Linked DNA regions of Homo sapiens: region 1 is linked to region 2. The links are contacts of gene promoters, found by promoter capture Hi-C in human tissues and cell types (Jung and others, 2019). All regions are on one chromosome and are shown on one strand. Each heading gives the region's core, a stretch centred on a gene start or on the middle of the fragment in contact. The rest is flanking DNA. Distances are from core to core; before and after follow the strand shown.

What was found. Contacts are between HindIII fragments. The study calls those that stand out against the background at their distance.
Region 1: a fragment that was not itself captured here is called in contact with the fragment with the promoter of HELZ2 in region 2 in 1 of the 25 tissues and cell types used here (pancreas).

The regions. Positions count from the first base shown.
Region 1 is chr20:63,926,498-63,933,003 of GRCh38, forward strand. It overlaps DNAJC5 (DnaJ heat shock protein family (Hsp40) member C5), which reads left to right. Exons shown (of 5, transcript NM_025219.3): 2 at 1,838-1,955; 3 at 2,815-3,028; 4 at 4,354-4,525; 5 at 4,968-6,506. The coding sequence starts at 1,849. The coding sequence ends at 5,071. Among named protein-coding and RNA genes, the nearest start is that of MIR941-5, 9.9 kb to the left of the region's middle. RefSeq lists an enhancer at 5,739-6,240. The HindIII fragment of the contact is 6,255 bases long and covers 1-5,034 here.
Region 2 is chr20:63,570,946-63,577,264 of GRCh38, forward strand. HELZ2 (helicase with zinc finger 2) reads right to left here and starts at 3,294. Exons shown (of 20, transcript NM_001037335.2): 1 at 3,239-3,294; 2 at 1,163-2,276. The coding sequence starts at 1,440. RefSeq lists silencers at 272-628, 2,639-2,698, 3,339-3,618, 4,728-4,913 and an enhancer at 3,403-4,130. The HindIII fragment of the contact is 13,109 bases long and covers 1-6,319 here.

The sequences.
Region 1 (6,506 bases), core at 657-3,156, 350 kb after region 2:
ATTCTGCAGAGGAACGTTGCCATTATCTGTGTCTCTTTCTAAAGGAGATTTGTTATGAGGAATTGGCCCACGTCATTATGGAGACGGAATCTCATGCTCTGCCATTTGCTGAAGATTGAGGAAAGCAGTGGGATAATAACAGTCCAAGGACAGGAGGAGACACGTGGCCCCGCTCAGGCTGGCAGGCGAGAAGGAAAACCCAGGCCAACTCCTCCTCCCACCCCTTTCTATTCGGGACCCCCGTGGACTGGGACGACACTCACCTGCACAGGGCAGCGCAGTTGGCTTCATGGAGCCCCCAGCTCAGGTGCTGCTCTTACCAAGAAACACCCTCCCAGGCACACCCTGAAGTCATGTTTCATCTGGGTGCCCCACGATGCAGCAAAGGAGACATGAAATTAACCGTCATGTACACTGTATTTATTATTCAATTCAAAACATTTTCTAAGTTCCCCTGGGATTTCTTCTTTGAGCTACATGTTAGCCGGAGGTGTGTTGTTGAATATCAAGAGTATCTTCCTCCTGGGTTTCCAGTTTGTAGCTAAGTCAGGGATAGTGCTGTGTGTGACCTCATTCCATTACGTTTATTGAAACCAGCTTGAAGCCCTAACATGTGGCTTGTCTTAGTGTACAGCATTCAGTTAAAAACAATGTGTGTTCTCTAGATGTTGGGTGTTCTGTGACTGTCACGTCATGGTGGTTGATTAGTTAGAAACAATGTAGAAACAATGTGTATTTGCCAGGCGCTGTGGCTCACACCTATAACCCCAGCACTGTGGGAGGCTGAGGCAGGCGGATCACCTGAGGTCGGGAGTTCAGCCTGAGGTCGGGAATTCAAGACCAGCCTGGCCAACATGGAGAAACCCCATCTCTACTAAAAATACCAAAATTAGCTGGGTGTGGTGGCACATGCCTGTAATCCCAGCTACTCCTGTGTGAGGCTGAGGCAGGAGCATTGCTTGAACCGGGGAGGCGGAGGTTGTGGTGAGCCGAGATCGTGCCATTGCACTCCAGCCTGGGCAACAAGAGCAAAACTGTCCCCCCCCCCAAAAAAGAAAGAAAGAAACTGTGTGTTCTCTAGATGTTGGGTGTTCTGTGAAGATCAGGTCATGGTGGTTGATAGTGTTGTTCAGAACATCGATGTTTTTCCTGATTTTTGGTCTGTTCTGTCGATTTCTGAGAAAGTATTAAAATTAAAGTTGGGTCTTGCATTTTTATCCATTCTGTCAGTCCCTTACTTTAATTGGAGTTTTTTGTCCACTAACATTGAATTTAATTGTTGATATGTTTGGATTTAGATCTTCCAACTAATTTTCTATTTGTTTCCTGTGTTGAGTTACTTTTTCATTTTTCTTGTAACTTTTTAGCTTATACCTCTTTGCATTTTTTATGCAGAGGTTGCTGTAAGGATTACAATATGCATGTTTATTTTAATTAATTAATTTATTTTGTTTATTTATATATTTGTTTTTAAGGAACAGGGTCCCTGTCTCCTGGGCTCCAGTGCAGTGGAGTGATCATAGCTCACTGCAGCCTCAAACTCCTGGGCTCAAGCGGTCCTCCCGCCTCAGCCTCCCAAAATGCTGGGACTACAGGTGTGAGCCCCTGTGCCGGCCCACAGTACACAGCTGCAGTTCTTCAGGATCTCTTGGGGTGGCCGTATTCTGCCGTCTCACACTTCTCCATGCCATGGCGTCTGTCTGTGCACGTGGCAAACTCCACAAGGCAGTGTTGGATTCTTTTGCTTTGAACGGTCTTATGGAATAAAGTCCATCAGCTCTGCCCTTGGTACTTTCATCTATACTTTGTGATACTTTCTTTTTATTTTTTCTTCTAGAATAGCCTAACATGGCAGACCAGAGACAGCGCTCACTGTCTACCTCTGGGGAGTCATTGTACCACGTCCTTGGGTTGGACAAGAACGCAACCTCAGATGACATTAAAAAGTCCTATCGGTAAGTGGACAAGTGTGGCCCCCACATCCCCCCAGGAAGACACACATGCCCCGTGTGGTTTAGTCTGCATTTTACCAAGAACCATTGCACATACTTTATCCTGGCCGACTCAGCGTTGAACTGGTCACAGCTCGGTAACACCTTTGTATGTGTAATGTGCTCCTTATAGCTTAAAGTTATGGTATTCATGTTCTCTTGCCAACAAAAAATAGCACTTAGTAGAAACTGACACACTGTCCACAGTTCCATAGGGAGTCAGGGTCTGAACCTGTTTGAGGCCTCACAGGAGCCGCAGAGCGCTGGCATGGTCCTGTGGTCTCCTTGTTTTAGCACAGTGATGACAGAGACCCCTCACTCTGTTGTGGCCTTCTGATTGAGCTTGAAGAACTGCACTCTTGGGTACAGTTTCATTGAGTAACCTGTAAGAGACACCATCACTAATCCAGACAATTCAGATAGTCCTCCTCTCGTGTGCTAGCATCGTGTAGTTCATAAAACACTTCTTAAAGTGCCATCATTACGCCCCGCCGTGCTTACCGTTCACTTGGCACTTGTGCAGTTAGCGGCTGGGACACCAGGGCTGGCCTTGGTGCCGCTGAACTTAGATGTGCCGTGGCACTCACAGCCCTTGGGGCTCCCTCCTCTGAGGCTGGGTCAGGGTGAGGAGGTTTACCTGAAACAACCGCGGAGCTTGCTTTTGTCCCTGGCCCCTGCAGCCCTGGAGAGTCGGACAGTGAGGTGGCCTGGGTGGACCTGCCTTCCACTGCACCCGGCAGTGCGTGCGGGTGGGATGGACGCGGCGGCGGGTGCGGGTGGAACAAAGTCCAGGGTAGAGCCAGGACATGGTTTTGGTTTGCAGGAAGCTTGCCTTGAAATATCACCCCGACAAGAACCCCGACAACCCGGAGGCCGCGGACAAGTTTAAGGAGATCAACAACGCGCACGCCATCCTCACGGACGCCACAAAAAGGAACATCTACGACAAGTACGGCTCGCTGGGTCTCTACGTGGCCGAGCAGTTTGGGGAAGAGAACGTGAACACCTACTTCGTGCTGTCCAGCTGGTGGGCCAAGGTGAGGGCGAGCTGCCTGCCGTGCGGGCACCCGAGTCACTCCTGCCGTGCGGGCACCCGAGTCTCTCCTGCCGTGCGGGCACCCGAGTCACTCCTGCCGTGCGGGCACCCGAGTCTCTCCTGCCGTGCGGGCACCCGAGTCTCTCCTGCCGTGCGGGCACCCGAGTCACTCCTGCCGTGCGGGCGCCCGAGTCACTCCTGCCGTGCGGGCACCCGAGTCTCTCCTGCCATGTGGGCACCCGGGTCACTCCACGCCTGCAGGGTTCCCAGCATTGCAGAGCCCATGCGTTGATGCCAGCAACTCTACACTCCTGAGAAAAGGCTTCTGGGCATATGGAGCCTTTCTCCTCACCTGTGTGATGGGCGAAGCTCTGTCACTGGCTTGGTGTCCTGCCTGGAACAAGCCATAGCGTACAGATTGTCCCAGGGAAGAGCCGTGCGGAGCCGCCAGGGTTTCTTCTGTAAATGGCTCCCAGTCCTTCGTGAGACAGGAGGAAATAAGCCTCGATGTTACATCCGCATTTCTTCGTTTCCTCGTTTTGTTCCAAATGTCATATATGAGGCCAGAGGGTTGGAATCACTGCATGGCATTTGTGAGAAGCCTGTATTTGGCTTTGACTGGTCGGCCTCCTCACTAGAATCCTTATAAAGTACTTTTTATTTAGTTAATGTTAGACAGAGTCTCGCTCTGTTGCCCAGACTGGAGTGCTGTGGTGAGATCCTGGCTCACTTTAACTTTGAATTCCTGGGTTCAAGTGATCCTCCCACTTCAGCTCCAGAACTGCAGGAGTTGAGGCGTGAACCACTGTGCCCAGCCTGGAGGCTGCTTTGTTTTTTTTTTGAGACGGAGTCTCGCTCTGTTTCCCAGGCTGGAGTGCAGTGGCGCGATCTTGGCTCACTGCAAGCTCCACCTCCCGGGTTCACGCCATTCTCCTGCCTCTGCCTCCCGAGTGGCTGGGACTACAGGTGCCCGCCACCACGTCCAGCTAATTTTTTGTATTTTTAGTAGAGACAGGGTTTCACCGTGTTAGCCAGGATGGTCTCGATCTCCTGACCTCGTGATCCGCCAGCCTCGGCCTCCTGGAGTGCTGGGATGACAGGCATGGGCCACCACGCCCGTCTTGGAGGCTGCTTTTCTTTAAGCTGCGGGTTTCTTTCTGTCTCTCCTCCTCCCTTCTTCAGTTCTTTCCTTCTGCTTCCTGTCTGGAAGGCAGTATCCCCACCTGGAACGCACCCCCTGCCTTCTGCTGAGGGCATTTGGGAGTCCTGCGCCTCCCTCTCCAGGGGCCTCGGAGGCCATGCAACACCACCTTCTTCTCCCCCCAGGCCCTGTTTGTCTTCTGCGGCCTCCTCACGTGCTGCTACTGCTGCTGCTGTCTGTGCTGCTGCTTCAACTGCTGCTGCGGGAAGTGTAAGCCCAAGGCGCCTGAAGGCGAGGAGACGGAGTTCTACGTGTCCCCCGAGGATCTGGAGGCACAGCTGCAGTCTGACGAGAGGGGTGAGTGCCCGCCCCAGGGCCCGTGTGTGTGTGTGGGGCAGAGCCAGAATGGGCCCTGAATGGTGTCAACCTGTCTTGTCAAACAGGAGGGCACTGACACTGTGCCGCGAGTGTTTGTGGTGGCAGCTGGGACTGTTGAGGTGTGAACGTGGACCCTGAGGTAAAGCAGGCGCATAGAGCTGTCCCCGCCGTGACCTGCGGTAGCCGTAGATCCCAGGGACTGCGAGGCGGGGCAGGGCGGCAGGCAGTTGGGGCGGGGCTGAGGGCCGAGGGCTGGCGGTGACCCAAGGCGACGGAGGAAAGCCGTGTGGGGTGGAGGTCAGCGAGTAGCCTCTCCCGGTGGAGAGTTTGTCCAGGTGCCCGAAAGTCGCTCCACAGGACCAGCGTTGGGTGCGCGCCAGGCTGTGGCCCTCGTGCAGTGCCCTGTGTGCTTGCTTTTCAGAGGCCACAGACACGCCGATCGTCATACAGCCGGCATCCGCCACCGAGACCACCCAGCTCACAGCCGACTCCCACCCCAGCTACCACACTGACGGGTTCAACTAAATCCAGGAGGAGCTGTGGTCAGAGGAGGAGCCGGCGCCTGGCCACGCCAACCTTAGAATCATGAACTGTAGTCACAGAGATGGGAAGGCAGCCTCCTGCCTGCCCTGGCCTTGCTGGGGCCCCTCCTGCCTCCACGCCCACCCAGCGTCGACCCTTGACCCACGAAGTGCGTAGCATGCAGTATTTAAAGCAGTGTAGCTACGGTCTTCTGTTTTTTTCCCTTTTTTAATAGCATGTATGGGGTTCTGTTCCATGTCTGTGTTGTGGACATTCCGCGGCATGACCGCGTGAACTGCACGGTGGAGCTGCCTCAGGGCTGTCGGTCAGGTTGGTCCAGTGAGGGGTGACTGCAGCCGGTCAGGTGGGCGAGGAGAAGGGGGGCTGCCCCTTTCCTACCTGTGCTTGAGGGGCCGGAGGCAGGTGCTGCCTGGCAGAGCTGTGTTACCGTCTTGGCCTCGGGGTCTGGTCCACACTCTGTGCTCCCAGCCTTGAGGCTGCAGTAGGACTCTGATCTCACCTGCCAGAAGAGAGGCGGGGCCGCGTCCTCCTGGCGTCACCGGCGTCACTGTCATTCCTTGGTGTCTGTGCTGGGCATGGTTGGCTTGGGGGTCTGTGGTTTCCTGGGCCTTGTGGCAGGGTTTCTCCCGTGGGAGAATTTGGTGTGGAAAGCATAGGAGGCCCCTTCCGAGGTTGACACCGTGTCCTCCGCGGTGTTTCTCGCCTGGTCGTCTCGTCGTGTGGACGCTGCCGTTCTGGTTCTCGGAGGTGTGTCCTTCGCCGTGTTGGGGTTATTTGTCTGTGTTCCTGCACTTTTCCCGGGCTCTGAGCTGGATTGATGGGGCCAGTCTCCCCCCTCCCATCTTGAGGTCGTTCTCCACATTCCTTCCAGCACACCTGTCCTTTCCATAGCCCTTTTTGGACCTTTAGAACCACAGATGATAGGACCAGCCCAATGAGCCACAGTCAGAGAGTAGATTGTGCATGTGTGAGCACCCAGCTACTGGGGACGGGGGCTCTCCCACGACCCCTCCTCCTGTGTTTGCCAGAGCTCCCATCTGCCCCACTCGCCTTTGCCCCGTCATCGATGATTCAGGCAGAGCCAGATTCGTTAGGTCCCTGGAGGAAGGACTGACTGGACCAGAGGGACCCTCTGGCTCAGGAGGGTTGGGTCCCTGGGAGGCCGGCAGCCAGGCCACAGAATCCACACGTGGACCATTGTGGGTCCCTGGGAGGCCGGCAGCCAGGCCACGGAATCCACACGTGGACCATTGTGGGTCCCTTGGGAGGCCAGCAGCCAGACTACGGAATCCACATGTGGACCATGGGAAGTCAGTCTCTTGCGTGTCCTAGACCTTGTGGGTGGCGCCCTGCATAGGGGAGCAGGGGGAACGGGTCTGATGTCCCTGTGCTGGCTGAGGGCTCAGAGCTGCCCGCA
Region 2 (6,319 bases), core at 2,044-4,543:
CCAATACTGGCCTCTGTAGGGAGCAGGGGCTTTATTCGTCCCACCCACTCCTGTGCTCCCGGGACAAGGCCTGGCTCAAGCAGTTCCCAAACATGAACCTCCCTTATCCGGGTCCTCAGAGGCCACATGGCTTTAGCCCTCAGCAGGTGGCAGGGAGGCCCCCGTCCACTGAACCTGGGAGCCTCTGGCTCTGCCTACGGTGGGCTCCTGCCCCGCTCCAAGCTCCTGGGAACCTCTGGCTCTGCCTACGGTGGGCTCCTGCCCCGCTCCAAGCTCCTGGGAGCCTCTGGCTCTGCCTGTGGTGGGCTCCTGCCCCGCTCCAAGCTCCTGGGAACCTCTGGCTCTGCCTGTGGTGGGCTCCTGCCCCGCTCCAAGCTCCTGGGAGCCTCTGGCTCTGCCTGTGGTGGGCTCCTGCCCCGCTCCAAGCTCCTGGGAACCTCTGGCTCTGCCTACGGTGGGCTCCTGCCCCGCTCCAAGCTCCTGGGAACCTCTGGCTCTGCCTACGGTGGGCTCCTGCCCTGCTCCAAGCTCCTGGGAGCCTCTGGCTCTGCCTGTGGTGGGCTCCTGCCCTGCTCCAAGCTCCTGGGAACCTCTGGCTCTGCCTACGGTGGGCTCCTGCCCTGCTCCAAGCTCCTGGGAGCCTCTGGCTCTGCCTGTGGTGGGCTCCTGCCCCGCTCCAAGCTCCTGGGAGTCTCTGGCTCTGCCTACAGTGGGCTCCTGCCCCGCTCCAAGCTCCTGGGAACCTCTGGCTCTGCCTACGGTGGGCTCCTGCCCCGCTCCAAGCTCCTGGGAGCCTCTGGCTCTGCCTGTGGTGGGCTCCTGCCCCGCTCCAAGCTCCTGGGAGCCTCTGGCTCTGCCTACGGTGGGCTCCTGCCCCACTCCAAGCTCCTGGGAACCTCTGGCTCTGCCTACGGTGGGCTCCTGCCCTGCTCCAAGCTCCTGGGAGCCTCTGGCTCTGCCTGTGGTGGGCTCCTGCGCTACTCCAAGCTCCTGGGAGCCTCTGGCTCTGCCTACGGTGGGCTCCTGCCCTACTCCAAGCTCCTGGGAGCCTCTGGCTCTGCCTGTGGTGGGCTCCTGCCCCACTCCAAGCTCCTGGGAACCTCTGGTTCTGCCTATGGTGGGCTCCTGCCCTACTCCAAGCTCCTGCCTCGAGTATCCTTACTTTGGGCAGAGCTCGAACTTGGAGAGTCCCGGGGGTGGGGAACGGTGCTCCCAGGGCAGGGCCTGGTCGAAGGCCACCATCTGTGCGTGCTCCGAGGATGCGCAGTGGTTCTCGAAGGCCTCCTGAGAGTGGCAGGTGACCAAGCAGGCCGGGCAGTACAGCTGGGCCCCAGGGGGCTGGCCAAGGGGGGCCGTGCGCCCGTCGCCATCAGGGGCAGGGGGTGTGAGCAGGTCCCCCCGCTGGAGGCCACCCAGCTGCTCGGCCTCCCACACAGCCATCTCCACGGCGCTGTGTGCAAACTGGCAGCGGGACTCCCCACGCCAGCACGGCTGCCCACGCCCCACAAACCTGCAGTAGGCAGGAGGCTGGCCGGCCCGGGGCCGCGGCCTCACCACCACAAACTGTTGCTTGCGGCGGCCCTCGGCGCTCACGTGGGCCAGGAGGGAGGGGCAGGCTCCGTGCTCAGGGCACTGCCCCTGGGGGTCCACGCGACAGATGCATGGGGGACAGCGCCTGAAGCAGAGGGAGCAAAGCAGCTCGAAGCGGCCGCCAAACTCCGTAAGGATGGCGTCGGCCGCCCGGCCTGCCCCTCCCTGGGCCCCGCTGCCCTGCACCTCCGCCTTCAGCCATAGGCGCTGGAGGTTGTGCTGACGCTCGAAGGTCCAGACCAGGGCCTCCTCGCGACTGCGGGCAAAGGTGCACCGGTTTCGGTGGCGCCGGCAGCCGAGCCCAGGGCTGTAGTAGTGGCAGACTTGGTAGCACAGGGGCCTTGGGAAGGTGGGCCGGCAGCCCACCACGCGCCAGACCTTGCTCTTGGTGGCCTGCTTAAAGCGGGCCAGCAGGATCTCGCGGGAGCAGTCATGCTCCACCCTACGGAGGACGTAGGTGCTTTCATTGAGCCGCTGGGTGCAGCGGGAGCAGCCCAGACACAGGTCCACCAGGGCACACAGCCGGGCCAGGGACGGCCCTCTGGTGGCCGCGGGGCTGTTGGGCAGCAGGGTGGACCCTGGAGGCGCCACCTCGAACACCAGCTTGGCTCTCCAGGGAGGCGTCTGAGGCTCCTGAGCTCACGGGTCCACGCAGTCCACTGGAACTGTTGGCCACGGTTCGAAGCCTGCGACAGAAGGAGCAGGTGAGACTGAGGCCAGAGGACATCTGGTCCAGGCCCAGCTCAGAAGCACGGCCTCTCCACCAGGCAAGGAGCTGGGGATCTGCCTATCCTGATGCCCAAGCAGAGGCCTCTCCACCAAGCAAGGAGTTGGGACTCTCCCCACCCTGACGCCCAAGTGGAGGCCTTGGCAGTAGCTGTGTCCTGTCAGGGAGTACAGGGCTCACTGACCCGGACACAGCCAGACCCTCCCTCCTGAAGGGTCTCAGGCCCCACCTAGAAGGAGCCAAGGTGACTGCTTGTGGAGCCCTGGAGGGGGCAGAGCCCTTGGCACAGTGCCGCCCCCAGGAGGCCGCACCCCTCTGCCCCAGCCAGGGGTCCTGTGCACCCCAGGGCCTCAGGCTCCTGACTCTTCTAAGGACACAGCACCTCCTTTTCTATTGAATGACCACTGGCCCCCAGGAAAAGAGGACTCCACATCTGCACCTGGGGAGGGGCCTCACGGAGAGGAGGGTACAGTGCCCACCAGAGCTCAGGGTGCCAGGAAGAGATGGGTCCCCGGGTCCCCACCGCAGCTGGGATGCTACAAGAAGAGTAAGTTTAAAAGCAACAGACTGGAGGCAGACTTCAGTATGAGAACCCGGCACTCCCCGCGGACCCCTCTGAGAAAACATCCGAGTCTGCCATCCAGAAAGGACGGGAGCCGAGACCCCAAAATCCTGCGCTCCAGTGGGTGCAGAGACCACAGCGCTGGGTCTTGCTGCGGAGGGTGCTGGTCCTGGACGGGCTGCACTGCCCCGGGCTGGGTCTGTGGCTCCCGGGACTCCGCGCCCCCGGCTGCACTCACCCTCCCGGACCCCCCCCTCCGCCCCCGGCCCCGCCACCCTGGGACCCCCGCGCTCACCCTCCTGGAGCCGCCCCTGGACCCCCGCGCCCCCGCCCCTCCGCCCTGGGACCCCCGCGCTCACCCTCCTGGAGCTGCCTGCCCTGCCGAGCCTGCCCAGGAGCTCTCAGTTTCGATTCTGGCCCGGGCACTGACGCTGATCGCGGAAATTACCTCACCGCCCCCCGCCCCGCCCCGCCCTGCCCCGCCTCCAGCGACAGCTCGGCCCCCGCTGCGAGGGAACCTCGGGAAGCGCCAGCGAGCAGAGGACGCCCCTCCCTGAAGGGCCAGCGCCGTCGAAGGCGGAGGCGGCTGGGGGTGGGGGTCCTTTCCCGCACCCCTCCAGGGCCCCACGCCCCGTCCAGCCCTTCACACACCAGAGACGCCCCGATGATGTGCCAGGCGGAAGGGGTGAGACCCTGCCCGGCCCTGGACGGCAGGATGGTCTGGTGACTCCACCATCAGCCCCTGGAGAAATCCAGGCACAGCTGACCTGGAAGCCTGGGTCCCCTGACAGGCAGGACCTGCCCGTGGCCCTGGTGCTGCTGGGACCCCAAGTCCCTTCTGTCACCAACCAGGATATGGCAGGAATGGCTAAGTGGCCGCCGGGTCCCAGAGTCAGCACGCCTGGCTCTTGGCTCTCTGGACTGGCTCTGGGCCCTCAGCAGCCCTGTGGGGAGGCCCCATAGAGGAGCTGAGGCCTCCAGCCCACTTGCAGCTCGAGTCCCAGCCCCAGCCTTACTGCCATCTCAGGGAGACCCCAGGCCTAACCCTCCCACCTAGACCACGCCCAGCTGTTAGATGTCTATGTTTAAAATAAACGTCCCATTAGCCAGGGGTGGGGGCGGGCGCCTGTAGTCCCAGTTACTCGGGAGGCTGAGGCAGAAGCATTGCTTGAACCAAGGAAGTGGAGGTTGCAGTGCGCCAAGATTGCGCCACTGCACTCCAGCCTGGGCAACAGAGCAAGACTCCATCTCAAAACAAATAAATAAATAAAATAAACATCTGTGTTGTTTTAAGCCCCTGAGCTTTGGGGCGATCTGTTCTGCAGCAGTAGATAACGGACAGTGATGCTGCCCCTGAAACAAGGAAGCAAGGCTGCCACCCAAGGCCAGCACCTCGTGGGGAGGGCCAGGCTGGGGGCTCACAGCGACCTCGGGAGGTCGGCTGGGTGGGCCGTCAACCACCAGGGAGCCTCTCCGCAGACCAATCACGTTGGAGCTCCTGGGAGAGGGCAGGCCCTCGACAATAGCAGCCCCAGGGGCCGGGCGCTGAGCAGGGTCCATGTGCGTGGAACGCTGGGAGAATTTGTGTGGAACGCTGTGTTCCTGGATGGAGAGGCTCAACACCACACAAAGACGTGAGTTCCTCCTAAACTAACCTGCAGTCGCATGGTGGACACACTGACTTTCAAGTCCATTTGGAAAAGCATCACATCACCAAGAAAGGCTGGACAGGGCTTTTTTTTTTTTTGAGACTGAGTCTCCTTCCATTGCCCCGGCGGGAGTGCAGTGATGCAATCACAGTTCACTGCAGCCTCGACCTCTGGCTCAGACAGTCTTCCCCCCTCAGCCTCCTGAGTCGCTGGGACTACAGGCACACACCACCACAGTACAGGTGCACACCACCACAGTTAACTATTTTGGAGTTTTTTCTATGTTTTTCAGAGATGGGGTTTCTCAATGTTGCCCAGGCTGCTCTTGAACTCCTGGGCTCAAGCAAACCCCCCACCTCGGCCTCCTTGAGTGCCGGGATTAGATTACAGGCTTGAATCCCAACACCCAGCCCAGGATGATGACTAAAAAGGATTCCCAGCGGGTGCTGGCATGACTTACTAAACACATAACACACTGCAAAGCCACTGAACCCGGTGTGGACACACAGTTCCAAGGCAGAACAGAGAGTCCAGAAATAGAGTCACACTCAGGAGTCTGGGGTGGGATGAAAGATTGGCTCTCGGCCAGGCGCACTGGCTCACGCCTGTAATCCCAGCACTTTGGGAGGCCAAGGTGGGCAGATCACCTGAGGTCAGGAGTTCGAGACCAGCCTGGCCAACATAGTGAAACCCCATCTCTTCTAAAAATACAAAAAAAAAAAAAAAAAATAGCTGGGCGTGGTGGCAGGTGCCTGTAGTCCCAGCTACTCAGGAGGCTGAGGCAGGAGAATCCCTTGAACCTGGGGTCGGGGGGGGCGAGGCGGAGGTTGCAGTAAGCTGAGATCACACCATTGCACTCCAGCCTGGGAGACGGAACGAGACTCTGTCTCAAAAAAAAAAAAAAAGAAAGAAAAGAAAAGAAAAGAAAGCTTGGCTCTCACACCTCAGGGAAAAACAATTCATTGATGCATTCCACAAATTATTAGAACAACTGATTAGCAGCATCTGGAAACAAAAATGGGAGGGACGGTCTCTGCGTAGCATCTTACACCATATGAAATAATCAAACACTCTCACGGAAGGAAAAGCCAACCACAGAGGCACTAGGAGAAACCAGGGCTGAAAGTGTCTGATTCTCAGGACTCTTGGGATGTGAAAGGCCTTTCTAGGTGAAATCCAGCCCTGCGCCACTCGCCCCCAGCCAGGCTCAAGGACAGGGCTGGTGGCTTCACACATGCCGTGAGGGGCAAGCATACACCCCAGAAATCCACAAAACCTGTCTCCTGAAGCACTGTTTTTTTCTTCTTAGAGAACGAATTAAACATCTACCAGCACAACAGTGATAAATTCAATGACACAAAACAATTTCACATGGAAAAAAACACCACCATCAAAGGAGTCAAAAACCAAACATGAACAGAAAACAAAATTGCAGCTTATGTCACAGTGAAAAGTCTGATCGCTCTGATATATATTTTTTTTTCTTGAGACGGAGTCTCACTCTTGTCACCCAGGCTGGAGTGCAGTGGCACAATCTCGGCAAGCTCCACCTCCCGGGTTCACGCCATTCTCCTGCCTCAGTCTCCCAAGTAGCTGGGACTACAGGCGCCCACCACCACGCCTGGCTAATTTTTTGCATTTTTAGTAGAGACGGGGTTTCACCGTGTTAGCTAGGATGGTCTCGATCTCCTGACCTCGTGATCCACCCACCTCGGCCTCCCAAAGTGCTGAGATTACAGGCGTGAGCCACCGCGCCTGGCCCTGATCTCTCTAATATTTTAAAGATCTTAT